Linked DNA regions of Homo sapiens: all the other regions are linked to region 4. The links are contacts of gene promoters, found by promoter capture Hi-C in blood cells and fetal thymus (Javierre and others, 2016). All regions are on one chromosome and are shown on one strand. Each heading gives the region's core, a stretch centred on a gene start or on the middle of the fragment in contact. The rest is flanking DNA. Distances are from core to core; before and after follow the strand shown. Region 1 holds the start of KLK1 (kallikrein 1). Region 2 holds the start of KLK11 (kallikrein related peptidase 11). Region 3 holds the start of KLK6 (kallikrein related peptidase 6). Region 4 overlaps MYH14 (myosin heavy chain 14).

Region 1 (2,890 bases), core at 268-2,767, 540 kb after region 4:
AGGATCAGAGGCTCACTGAGGAAGAATCTGGAGGGCTAAGGGGCTCCTAGGCTAGGGAAACAGGACCTGGGTTGGGCTTTTGAGGTTCAGGAAAGGATGCAGCTTTAGGGAACCAGGTCTGAGAGGTAAAGAAGAGCATCTGGACTGAAGAGTTTGGGGGTGACTTGGGGTCCCTACATTGGGGTTGGAAGGGGCCAGCTTGGCTGGGACAGTTAGATTTCAGGGCTTCCTGGTTAAAGGGTAAAAGAAAGGGCTATGGTTAAGGCTAGAGGTGGGCTTCCGAGAGGTTTTGGGGTCCTTCCTGTGAACCAGGAATGGCAATCTGAGGGGAGGTTGGGGCCCTGAGAACACAGTTGCGGTCAGGACTGGGACGGGGCTCAGGAGGAGGGAGGCGTGAGTGGCAGTCCTTCTCGGACAGGGTGAAGGATGGGATCTTCGTTTCTCATGGGGATGGGGTTCATGGTCTGAGGGTACTGGAAGGATATGGGGTCCTCTTGGAGGCAATCCTAGGAAGAGGATTGGAGAAGTGGTGAGAACAGGCGCCAAGCAGCTGTGGGAATGCAATGCAGGACCCACTTGACGTGAGGTTGTAGAATCACATACTGACTTGGGGGAGGCCAGGGCAGAAGCGCTGGCTGAGAAGGCATTCAGGATCCTTGGGGTGGGGTTCCAGAAAACCAGAGCTGTGTAGGAACAATTCAGGCAGAGAAGGGCTGGGGCCTGGGGCGGGATGGAACTTCCCCAAGGAAAGGAGCATGTGGTGGGAGGGTGTGGTGTTTTTCCTGGGAGAGCTGGGGGTGCTGGGTGGGAAGGGACATTTGCAGACCCCCCCCCATACCAGATGGGGGATCCCACATGCCAGTTTGGGAAGCAGGGTTTTCTGGTGAAATTTGGGGGACCCTGGAAGGACTGGGGAGACCAGATGTCAGGGTCTGGAGGACACAGTTGAGAGCGGACAGCTGGATGGAAAAAGTCACTGGAGTGTGGTGGGATTTGTAGACTCAGGAGCCAAATAGGTGGCCGCAGGGAACTAGGGGGCAGGAGGGGATGATCAGAGTCCTGTGGGGTGGGGGAAGCCCATGGGAGGGTTGGGGTCCTCCAGAGAGAGACAGAGATGGCCCAGAATCTGCCCCTTTGGTAAAGCGGTGGGACAGGGCGTTGGCTAGGGAAGAGGAGAAAGTACTGAGGCTTCCTGGGAGGAGCAGGAATCTGGTGTGGGAGTGAGCACTATGACAACATGGAGGAGCGGGGGTGGAAGTTTAGGGTGGGGCCGCGCAAGATAGATAAGAGCCGGGGCACCCCGGACTAGGATAGACTGTGGGCCAGAGGGATGAGGGTGGGGTGTTGGAGGGGAAGGTCTTATCGGGGGGGGATGTGAGGCCAGCAAGAGAATCAGGGCCCGTTCCCCCTCCCACATCCCCCCACTGTCTCACCAGTCCCCCCCAGGGACAGGGCGAGGCACAGAACCAGGAACCACATGGTGACAGAGGTGTCCAGGGGCCAGCAGGTGGAGGAACTGGGGAACCTCCCTGGGGAGGCTTTTAAAAGCCCTTATCCCCTCAGAGCCCCACCCCTGCCCTGCTGGCACCCAGATGTTGGCCAAGGCCCTTCCCCTGTTGCCTGGGGGCTGGACAATTGCCCCCCCCCCCTCCGATCCCCAGAGCTGTAGACGGGGAGGGAGAACCAGCACCTGTTCTGCAGGCCCTGGATCACGCTGGACGCATTCCTGGGGTTGAAGCCAGGTGGGGCAGGGCCTGTGGCTCTGGGGCTTTGCTCTGGGGAGCAGCCAGTGAGGCAAGGGGGGACTGAGGGGAAGCAGAAACAGGAAGACGGAGGAATCAGTGACCCCTGGTACAAAGCCCCATATACCTCAGTCTCAATTAAGGCCCTGCACCCCCAGACCTGGTGCCCTCAAACACCAGCAGTTAGGGCTCTGATTCCCTGCACCACTCGGAGCCAAGATACTAGCATCTCAGCTGCCAGTTCCCCCTGAAATATAAGCCTTGGCCTTCAGAATGCCCTGGTTCTTGCACTCCCAGACCCAGGACCTAGGTCCCCAAAGCTACTGTTCCTTTCATAATAAAATTTTGGGGTACACATCACCACATTCCTAGTGCCTCCAGATCCAGGAATGTGAAGTTTCAGGGGTCTCCCAGGGTAAGTTCTTTAGCATTACAAAATCCAGTGTCCCTCCCAAACAATGCTGGGGTCTCAATGAGCCTCCCACTTCTTGCTCCCAGTTATGGGTGCTCAACGTCCTGTCCTCCAAAGTCCCAGAGATCTGGACAACCTTCCCTCCCAGGTCAAGATCAGGCTAACCACAGATTCCAATGACCCTTCCCCCCCACCACCAGTACAATATTTAGGTCTCACGAGCCAGGTTCATGTACTTCAACATTCAGCGACCTTGAACATCACATTTTGTGGTCTCTGAAGATAATTAGGAACTAGATTCCTGCAGCCTCAATGGTAAACCCATAGGCTTCCAACAGGTTGTCTTGGCTTTTTGGTAAAATCAAAGCAGCTCAGAGTTCCAGCCTCTGCTGTATATCAGGGACCTGGCTAAGGAAAGGACAGTATTTGCCTTTTTGCCATGGCTACCAGGAAGCCCAGAACTAAATCTTTTTTTTTTTTTTTTTTTTTCTGAGATGGAGTCTTGCTCTGTCACCAGGCTGGAGTGCAGTGGCGCGATCTCGGCTCACTGCAACTCCTGCCTCCTAAGTTCAAGCGATCCTCCCACATCACCCTCCCAAGTAGCTAGGATTACAGTCGTGTGCCACCACGCCCGGCTAAATTTTTTTAGTATTTTTAGTAGAGATGGGGTTTCACCATGTTGGCCAGGCTGGTCTTGCACTCCTGACCTCAAGTGAGCCGCCCGCCTTGGCCTCCC
Region 2 (2,727 bases), core at 136-2,635, 740 kb after region 4:
GGCACTCCAGCCTGGACAATAGAGCAAGACTTTGTCTCTGGGAAAAAAAAAAAAGGAAATACTTCCATACTGGTTGGTCAGTAGCCCCTGTCCTGGGCGCTTTGAGTGACTGCTCCCCCAACTCCAGCTTCCTCAGCCCCTCCACGGGACCCTTTACGACCCCCTTGACCTCTCCTCCTTTGGCATTTAAAGGGATTATCTAGAAGGGCATCCAGGCCCTCATGACCACTGCTCCAGTTCAGGTGCCTTATGGGTTGTTCTGTAATTTGGAATCAGCCCTGTCACTGTCCAGACACAGAGGGTTAGGGGATCCCAGAGATTCAAGAGGGAGGATCCTGCCCTGCCCCCATCCCCTGCGTACCTGTTGCCAGAGCAAGCAGGATTAACTGCAGAATCCTCATGGCCTGGAGGGGGGAGGAGCGGGCCCCAGGTTCCTCTGGGAACAAGGAGGGACATGGGGCCGCATCACTTTACGGGGAAATCGGGAGGGGGGGGCTGGCTCATGCCCTCTCCTCTCTCCCTCACCTGCTCCCGCTCCCCACTTGGGAGAAACAAGGTTGGGGAAATCCCCTGTTTCTCACAGCACTCAGATCTCCAAACACTTAAAATATATCTTAGGTGTCTAGGGTGGCCTTGGAGAGGGCCTGGTCACAGCTAGAAGCTTCCGAGATACCAAGAACCATGTGGAAGTCGTTGGGAGGGGCTTTGAGCTGTCAAGCCATGGTTCGGCCCTGTTCAAGTCAGCCATGGGACCTCCCCGGCACATGTCAGAGGATGTTTTCCTTCTTGCCTTGAGAGCTGGCCAGGCCCCAGCAGCTTGGGGTGGAAGGACAAGGGGAACCAGACACCGTTCCGTAGCCACCCCTTTTTCATTGTCTTCGCAGCAGAGCGATATGGAGCCTTTGAGGTCTGCTGGAGGGGAGTAGGGGGCTCAGCCCCAGACAATGTCTGGGACCCCCATCACCCGGCTTGCTGAAGCCCTGTCCGCCAAACCCCTGCCCTTTTGAAGGACAGCCAAGCAAAGCTGGGCGGGGCTGGTCGAGGGGAGGGCCAGTGCCCTCCGCTGCCCTGGCCAGCGGGGGTGGGAGCAGAGGGCCAGCTCAGCAGCTGAAGCCATGGAGATTAGAGGTAACTGAGGCTGCGGACAGCCATCGGAGGTGAGAGGTGTAGAGAGAGGCCAGGAACCCCCACCCAAGCAGAGAAGGACAGAGCAGAGGGAGAAATGGGTGCCCGAGTGGGACAGGTGTCCTTGGGGAGGGCTGACACCTGGACGGGGAGGGGCAGCTTCCCTTTCCTCCTGGACTCACAGGCTCTGGGGCTGGGGCTCTGGGGGCCCAGTGGCGGCGGAGACGGCAGTGGCGGCAGCTACAGCAGGTAGGCTGGGTTGGAGCGCCAGGTGCCAGGCACCAGGCAGGCGGGCTGGCAGGGGGGCGGCCCTGGGCGGGCCCAGGATGACTGGCCTCCAAGCCCTGCCTTAATGCCCCGGGGCGGGGTGTGTGTGAGGGCCCTCCCCGGAGGCCTCTGAGGCACTGGCTGCCTGCCTGTGCCACCTCTCCAAGCCCCTCTTCTCCCTGTGTCTCAGCCTCCCTCTGTCTGTCTGTCTGTCTGCAGCCTTCCTTTCCCTGCCCTGAGTCTCTGAATCTGTGTCTCGTTCTATGTGTCATTCCCTGTCATTCAGTAATTCTGACTTTGTGTGATTTTTCTCTTTCTGTCCCTATGTGTCTGTCTGCCTTTCTCTGTCCTCGTCCCTGTCTCCATCTCCACTCTTCTCTCTCTGTCTGGCTCTGTGTGGCCCTTTCTCTAATTCCTTCTATCTTTGTGTCTCTCAGTCAGTCTCTCTGACTGCATCTCTGGCAATTTGTCTTGAAATCCCTCTTCTTCCATCTAATCTCCGTCTCTCTTTTTCCTCCCGTCCCAGCCACTCCCTCTCCACAGCCCCAGCCCAGGTGGGCCCCTGGCCTCCCCTAGGCCGCTCCCTTCTCCTTTGCAAGGAGAGGGGGGGTGTGCTGGGATGTCACACAGGTGGGGCTGCTGCCAGGCACAGGGGCAGGACCGGAGGGTGGGGGAGGCAGGTCAGGGCCTGTGGAAGCCGAGTCCAGGAAAGGGAACAGAGCCCTTGGCTGTGCTCCACCCCAGGGCTCCTCTGGGGCCTCGCTCCTCTGCTGACCCTTCCCCTGCCCGCTTCTCCCTGCCGCCCAGGCAGCCCGAGTCCAGCTGTTCACTTACTGGCTGCTGTGAGACCTCTGCCCGATGACTTCCAGTCCCGCAGCCACCTCAACCTCTGCATCTGCGGAACCCGAGCGCAGATTCCTGCTTCTCCCAGCTTGTTTGTTTTCAGTTAGGTCCCTTCCCTTGGCTTTCCTCCCCTCTCTCCCCTGACCAGGTGTGGAGCAAGGCAGGGGAGGGCCTAGGTTCTGACAGCAGCCAGCCCTGGCCTCAAACCTAGGTGCTTCCTCTTCCTACTACTATGACTACCCTTATGACGTGGGGACAAGGGACTCCACCCCTGCAAGGCTCAGTTTCTTCATCTGAGAGATGGGGGTGACAGACCTGCTTGCAGGGGAGGTTGGGATCAGGCTTCCAGGAGGGTCCACTTGGAAAGAGCAGACTGCGGGGGGGCTCAGCAAATGTGCCTCCGCTGGTATGATCACCCCTCACTCCCTCCCTCCTCCAGTTTCCCTTCAGTGCATTTGGGGAGATGGTCTCTCCTCACCTCTTGAGTCCCAG
Region 3 (2,962 bases), core at 1-2,500, 690 kb after region 4:
CCAGTAACCCATGGTGAGATTCTGATTAGATCTTTCTACTTTCTTGGGCACTGATTTGCCTTCCTGTCGACAGGAGAGGGTTACCCTAGGGGGCCCTAGCGTTCTTCCTCTGTATGGGAGTTTTCCTCGGAGCCTGGCTCTGTGCGCAATGGCCACCCACCCCGCCCACCCGGCAGGTTCTGTGATGTCTGTGATCTCACCTGCTGCAGGCCTCCGGGCTCCGGGGATTCTTGAGTCGGGGGAAGGAACAGCTTTGAGACGAGGAGGCAGAAAGAGTTAGAAATGCGGGGAGCCGTGAGGAGAGAAGACACTCAGATGCAGTGGCAGAGCCAAGCGGAGGACGCAGGGGCCGCAGAGCCCAGGGCTGCAGGGACTGCCAGACACACACCCCCAGCTCCCAGGCCTCCCTGGAAGAGGCTGGTTCTGTCCCCAGATGCTTCTGGAACGTCCTTTTAACCCCTGTCTCTCAGGTCCCTGAGCCAGGAGACTGGCTACACCCTTTTCCTCCTTACCCAGGCCTCCCACACACATTCCTCCCGCCCCCACGCTCTGCTCTTGGTGACCCCTGACCAGGCCTCCAGGGAAGGGAGCACTGGTCCCTGAGTGCAGTGAGGGCCTGGACTCCTGGGTCTGAGGGAGGAGGGGCTTGGGGGCCTGGACTCCTGAGTCTGAGGGAGGAGGGGCTGGGGGCCTGGACCCTTGCGTCTGAGGGAGGAGGGGCTTGGGGCCTGGACTCCTGGGTCTGAGGGAGGAGGTGAGAACTTGGACTCCTGGGTCTGAGGGAGGAGGGGCTGGGGGCCTGGACTCCTGAGTCTGAGGGAGGAGGTGGGAACTTGGACTCCTGGGTCTGAGGGAGGAGGGGCTAGGACCTAAACTCCTGGGTCTGAGGGAGGAGGGGCTGGGGCCTGAATCTGAGGCAGAGGAAGTTCTAGTCGGCTCAGTCCTTAGACCTCCGGGTTTTGGAGAAAGAAAGTGTCTGAAGACAAATTCCGGCCTCTGGGGCAAGCAGATGGTGCCCCAGGCCTCCCTGCACCCCCAGCACTCTCTGTGCCACCCAGGGACCTGCAGGCCCTCACTCCGGGCTCTAGAGCCCTCCGGCACTGGGAAGCAGCCTGCCCAGGTTCAGTGCGGTTGGGGTGACTCACACACCTGCCCGTAGGTCCCTCTGTGTGCTGCCTGCCGACCTCTGTGTCCCCAGGAGAGAGCGAGCCAGCCAGCCGGGGAGACAGCTACAGCGTGTGTCACCACACTGGCCCCCGCCCCTGCCCCGGGCTGGGGAGCAGGCCCAGGCGCGATGGGGAAAGGGCCCAGGAACAATCGGGCTTTGTCCGCCCCCAGCACCCCAGTGCCATGCTCCCAGCAGCTCCGGCCTCAACCTCTCTTCCGGCGGGCAGGCGGGAGGGCGGTTACATCAATGGCTTCCTTTTGTCCCTGTCTGACAGTCCTCCTTTGCAGTCTCTGACTGCCCACCTGGCCCTGACTGGAGATTTCGGCACTCCACATCCTCCTGGTCCTTCTCCTCCAAGTCTGCCCACCCCTGAGGTCTCTTGCTCCATCTGTCTCCCTGGCCATGGAGGGGAGGGAGCTTCCATCTCTCTCTCTCTCCCATCTCAGTCTCTGTATTTGTGTCTCTCTCCCTCTTTTTTTCTCTCTCTCCCTTCCTCTCTCCCTTCCTCTCTCCCTTCCTCCCTTCCTTCCTTCCTTCTTTCTTTCCTTCCTTCTTTTCTTTCTTTCTTTCTTTTTTTTTGACGGAGTCTTGCTCTGTCACTCAGGCTGGAGTGCAGTGGTGTGATCTCAGTTCACTGCAACCTCCGCCTCCTGAGTTCAAGCAGTTCTCCTGCCTCAGCTTCCCAAGTAGCTGGGATTACAGGCACCCACCACCACGCCCGGCTAAATGTTTTTTGTATTTTTAGTAGGGAAGAGGTTTCACCATGTTGGCCAGGCTGGTCTCAAACTCCTGACCTCAGGTGATCCACCCACCTTGGCCTCCCAAAGTGCTGGATTACAGGTGTGAGCCACTGTGCCCGGCCTCTCTCCCTTTCTTTCCCCTTGATTCTCTGACTCTCCGTGCTTATCTTCTCCTGGGTCTCTTCTTAGATTTCCCCGGGGGTAGCACTGTGTGTGCCCAGAAGGGAGTCAGTTTCCCCAGGAAGTAGCGGGGATGATTCCCGAGCGATGAGGAAGCTAGCAGGATGGAAGAGGACTTGAGGACTTATTGATGAGATGCGGACACACAGCGAGAGGCATGGAGTTAAGCAGAAATCGGAGAGCACTTGGGAACGACGTGGGGCTGTGATAAGATGGTGGTGCTGGGCAGTAGCAGAGGGATCTGGGAAGATTTAGGGAGGTGTCTTTGAACTTGGGCCTAGAAAGCTGAGCCAGGCGTAGGTCAGGAGGAAAGGCCGTGAAAATGCCTGGCCTGGGTGCACATGGGAAACCACAGGCAGTGGTTGGGGTGGTTGGTATGGGCTGGAGGGTGAGGGTGTGTGCGTGGCAGAGTGGAGAGAAATGAGGAGGGGGAAGTCACTGCGTAATAAGGACAATGATAGGAATGAAGTCTGGCTCAGCACCTGCTTGGGCTGGGCACTACAGGTAACTTAAAAAAAAAAGTTCTTTTTTCTTTTGAGACAAGGTCTTGTTCTGTCGCCTAGGCTGGAGTGCAGTGGCACGATCCTTGCTCGTGGCAGCCTCAACCCTCCTGGGCTCAAGCGACCCTCCCGCCTCAGTCTTCCCAGGAGCTGGGACCATAGGCATGAGCCACTGTTCCCAGCCAACCCTTTTCTTTGTCTTGCATTGAATCTAATTGTCATCTTGCATTGTGCACCCCCCATCACTCCAGGGATGAAGACTACTTCGGTATTCAGTATACTCTCCGGGTGCTCCCTCTCACATTTGGTCCCCACTGACCTCAGCACCTTCTTCTCAGGACGTGCTATCTTCACAGACAGCAAGTCTGATGTTG
Region 4 (2,886 bases), core at 182-2,681:
CTGGGTTCCCCAGCTCAGGGATGGCCATGCTGCCCACCTTCTCATAGGCCAGACCCATGGGTGCCTTTCTCATCTCTGACTCCCCCTTACCCCCCACAGCCCATGCCCAGCCCTGGCTGTCCTGACCCCTGACTCTCAGCCTCATCCCTTGTCCCAGCTCCAGCTCAGCCCCAGCTCCAGTGCCGTCCTCTCCCATCTAGATCCTCCTCTTGGCCTCTGGGCCTCCAGCCTCTCCCCTAACAGCTCATCCCCTGCACAGCCCCAGAAGCTTCTTTCTTTACCTGGAGCTGACCCTGTCCCTCCTCTGCTCACAGCTCTCCCACGCCTCCCCAGTACTCCTAGACAAAGTCCATGCCTCTCAGTCAGGCATTGAGGCCCTGCAATCTCTGGTCCTTCCTCTGCCTTTAGCTGTATTCATCTCTATCTCTACTTTCCTATTTTATTTGAAAAAAACCTTTTATTTTTCCAGACTTAGCATTAGGCTCCCCTGTGGGAAGTTTCCTGACCCGTCTTCTCTTTCTCCTCTGTCCCAACTCCAGTCACCTTGGGCTGGGACTGTCTCTGCCCATGAGTCTCCCCACCAGACTGAGAGCCCCTTCAAACTAGAATCCCATCAGAGTTAGATCCAGGTCTGTAGCACAGCCTGATATAGGGCCTGATGTATGGTAGGCGTTGAGAAATGCCTATTGAATGAATGAGTGATGGTACGTGCCTGCAGATATCCTTCAACTGGCAGACTTCTATGCATACTTCAAGACCCATCTCAAATGCTCCTCCTTCAGGAAGTTTCTCCTGAATGTTCTAAACAGATTCTGGGCACTTCCTGTGGACCTCCATAGCTCCCATACTGCTACCTTAACCCCTATCACCCTGGCTGTGACTCTGTGTCTCCCCCAGCAGCCGAGGGGCTCCCCAGGAAAGACTCCAGGTCTGATTCACCTCTGCATCTTGGAGGGAGTAATTTTAATTCCCTGGAAGAACTAGGGCTCATAGTATTCACAACTTCACACCACTCAGAGGCAGAAGAGCCCAGCAGAATGACCCCTTTCCCTCTTCAGGCCTCAGTCTCTTCATCCTGGAAATGGAGCACCACCAGCTTACACCTTGGTCACTCATGGCCGTGACCACCAACCACCCTCTCTCTCCTCCCCTCAGCTTTCCGAGTGGCGGCGGCGCCAGGAGGAGGAGGCAGGGGCACTGGAGGCAGGGGAGGAGGCACGGCGCCGGGCAGCCCGGGAGGCCGAGGCCCTGACCCAGCGCCTGGCAGAAAAGACAGAGACCGTGGATCGGCTGGAGCGGGGCCGCCGCCGGCTGCAGCAGGAGCTGGACGACGCCACCATGGACCTGGAGCAGCAGCGGCAGCTTGTGAGCACCCTGGAGAAGAAGCAGCGCAAGTTTGACCAGGTGGGGCACCTCAGTTCACCCAGCCGGGGAATCAGCAAGTCCATCTACGCTTCCCATGGTCGTTGTGAGGAACCAGTAATCCGTGCTGTCACGGCTCAACTAGGCAGTTGTAGTGGACCAGGAAGCAAGACCCTTCTTTGCTCTGGGCCTCTGTAAAATAGGACATCCCTCTGTCCTGATTCATGCCTCTTGCCACAGCATAATTCCTCGTAGCACCCACTTTTACTTTCAGAGCTGCCCTGGTTTTTGGATGACAAAATATACGAATACCTTCAGTACCCCAGAGATTGCTTATGAGAATTAAATCAAATAACTCATCTCACTTCTGCTGATTCACGGGGTACCTCAGGCAAGTTGCTTTTTCCATCTCAGCTTCAGTTCGCCCATCTGGAAAATGGCAATAATACCAAGCATCTGGCAGCCTGAGGATGAAATAAAAATCACAGAACCTTAGAGAGTTCAGATCAGGCAATCCTGAGGTTCAGATCCCAATTCGGCCTCTTGATGGCTGTGTGGCTTGGGCAAATTGCTCAACCTCTCTGTGCTTTATTTTATTCATTTAGAAAATGCAGTGTGAAGCTGGGCACTGTGGCTCATGCCTGTAATCCCAGCACTTTGGGAGGCCAAGGCGGGCGGATTGCCTGAGCTCAGGAGTTCACAACCAGCATGGGCAACACGGTGAAACCCCGTCTCTACTAAAATACAAAAAAATTAGCTGGGCATGGCGGTGTGCGCCTGTAATCCTAGCTACTCGGGAGGCTGAGGCAGGAGAATCACTTGAACTGGAAAGGCGGAGGTTGCAGTGAGCCAAGATCGTGCCACTGCACTCCGGCCTGGGTGATAGAGCAAGACTCCATCTCAAAAAAAAAATAAAAAATTAAAAAAAATTTTTTTAAATTGTCATTTCCCTGTAGGTGGTGCAGTATGTTTTTCTAGCTGACTTACGATTTCTCTCTTTATGTTTGGTTCTTAGTGGTTTGACTGTGATATGCCCAGCTGTGGGTTTTTTGTATTTATCCTGCTTTAGATTCACTGTGCTTCCTGTAGCTGTGGGTTGATGTTTTTGATCAAATGTGGAACATTTCAGCCATTATTTCTTCAAATATTTTTATCTCCCACTCTCTCTCCTTCCCCTTCTTCTTGGACTCCAAATACATATGATTTGATTGTAATACTCTTCCACAGGTCATTGAAGCTTTATTATTTTTGGCATCTTCTGGAATTTTATATAAATTATTTTCACATAAATCTCTTTTGGGATGGGCTTATTTTACTCAAAATAATTTTTTTTTTTTGAGACAGAGTCTCGCTGTGTCACCAAGGCTAGAGTGCAGTGGCACGATCTCAGCTCACTGCAACCTCCACCTCTCAGGTTCAAGCGATTCTCGTGCCTCAGCCTCCCAAGTAGCTGGGATTACAGGTGTGCACCACCATGCCTGGCTAATTTTTGTGTTTTTAATAGAGACGAGGTTTCACCATTTT

What was found. Contacts are between HindIII fragments. The CHiCAGO score rates a contact against its expected background, and 5 or more counts as called.
Region 1: the fragment with the promoter of KLK1 here is called in contact with a fragment that was not itself captured in region 4 in 5 of 17 cell types (total B cells, naive B cells, activated CD4 T cells and 2 more); the score reaches 8.2 in total B cells.
Region 2: a contact is called between the fragment with the promoter of KLK11 here and a fragment that was not itself captured in region 4, in 7 of 17 cell types (naive B cells, fetal thymus, activated CD4 T cells and 4 more). The highest score is 6.9, in naive B cells.
Region 3: the fragment with the promoter of KLK6 here is called in contact with a fragment that was not itself captured in region 4 in 9 of 17 cell types (naive B cells, total B cells, M1 macrophages and 6 more); the score reaches 8.6 in naive B cells.

What each region holds. Positions count from the first base shown.
Region 1 is chr19:50,822,270-50,825,159 of GRCh38, forward strand. It overlaps KLK1 (kallikrein 1), which reads right to left and starts at 1,518. Exons shown (of 5, transcript NM_002257.4): 1 at 1,434-1,518. The coding sequence starts at 1,479. The HindIII fragment of the contact is 16,614 bases long and covers 1-2,890 here.
Region 2 is chr19:51,025,231-51,027,957 of GRCh38, forward strand. It overlaps KLK11 (kallikrein related peptidase 11), which reads right to left and starts at 1,386. Exons shown (of 6, transcript NM_001136032.3): 1 at 1,308-1,386; 2 at 362-436. The coding sequence starts at 401. RefSeq lists enhancers at 465-1,023, 1,024-1,581, 2,141-2,697. The HindIII fragment of the contact is 2,362 bases long and covers 660-2,727 here.
Region 3 is chr19:50,968,341-50,971,302 of GRCh38, forward strand. KLK6 (kallikrein related peptidase 6) reads right to left here and starts at 1,251. Exons shown (of 7, transcript NM_002774.4): 1 at 1,150-1,251; 2 at 201-251. LOC105372442 (a long non-coding RNA gene) reads left to right here. Exons shown (of 7, transcript XR_007067308.1): 4 at 1-13. The HindIII fragment of the contact is 4,765 bases long and covers 1-2,962 here.
Region 4 is chr19:50,280,439-50,283,324 of GRCh38, forward strand. MYH14 (myosin heavy chain 14) reads left to right here. Exons shown (of 43, transcript NM_001145809.2): 33 at 1,156-1,404. Among named protein-coding and RNA genes, the nearest start is that of KCNC3, 47 kb to the right of the region's middle. The HindIII fragment of the contact is 2,331 bases long and covers 267-2,597 here.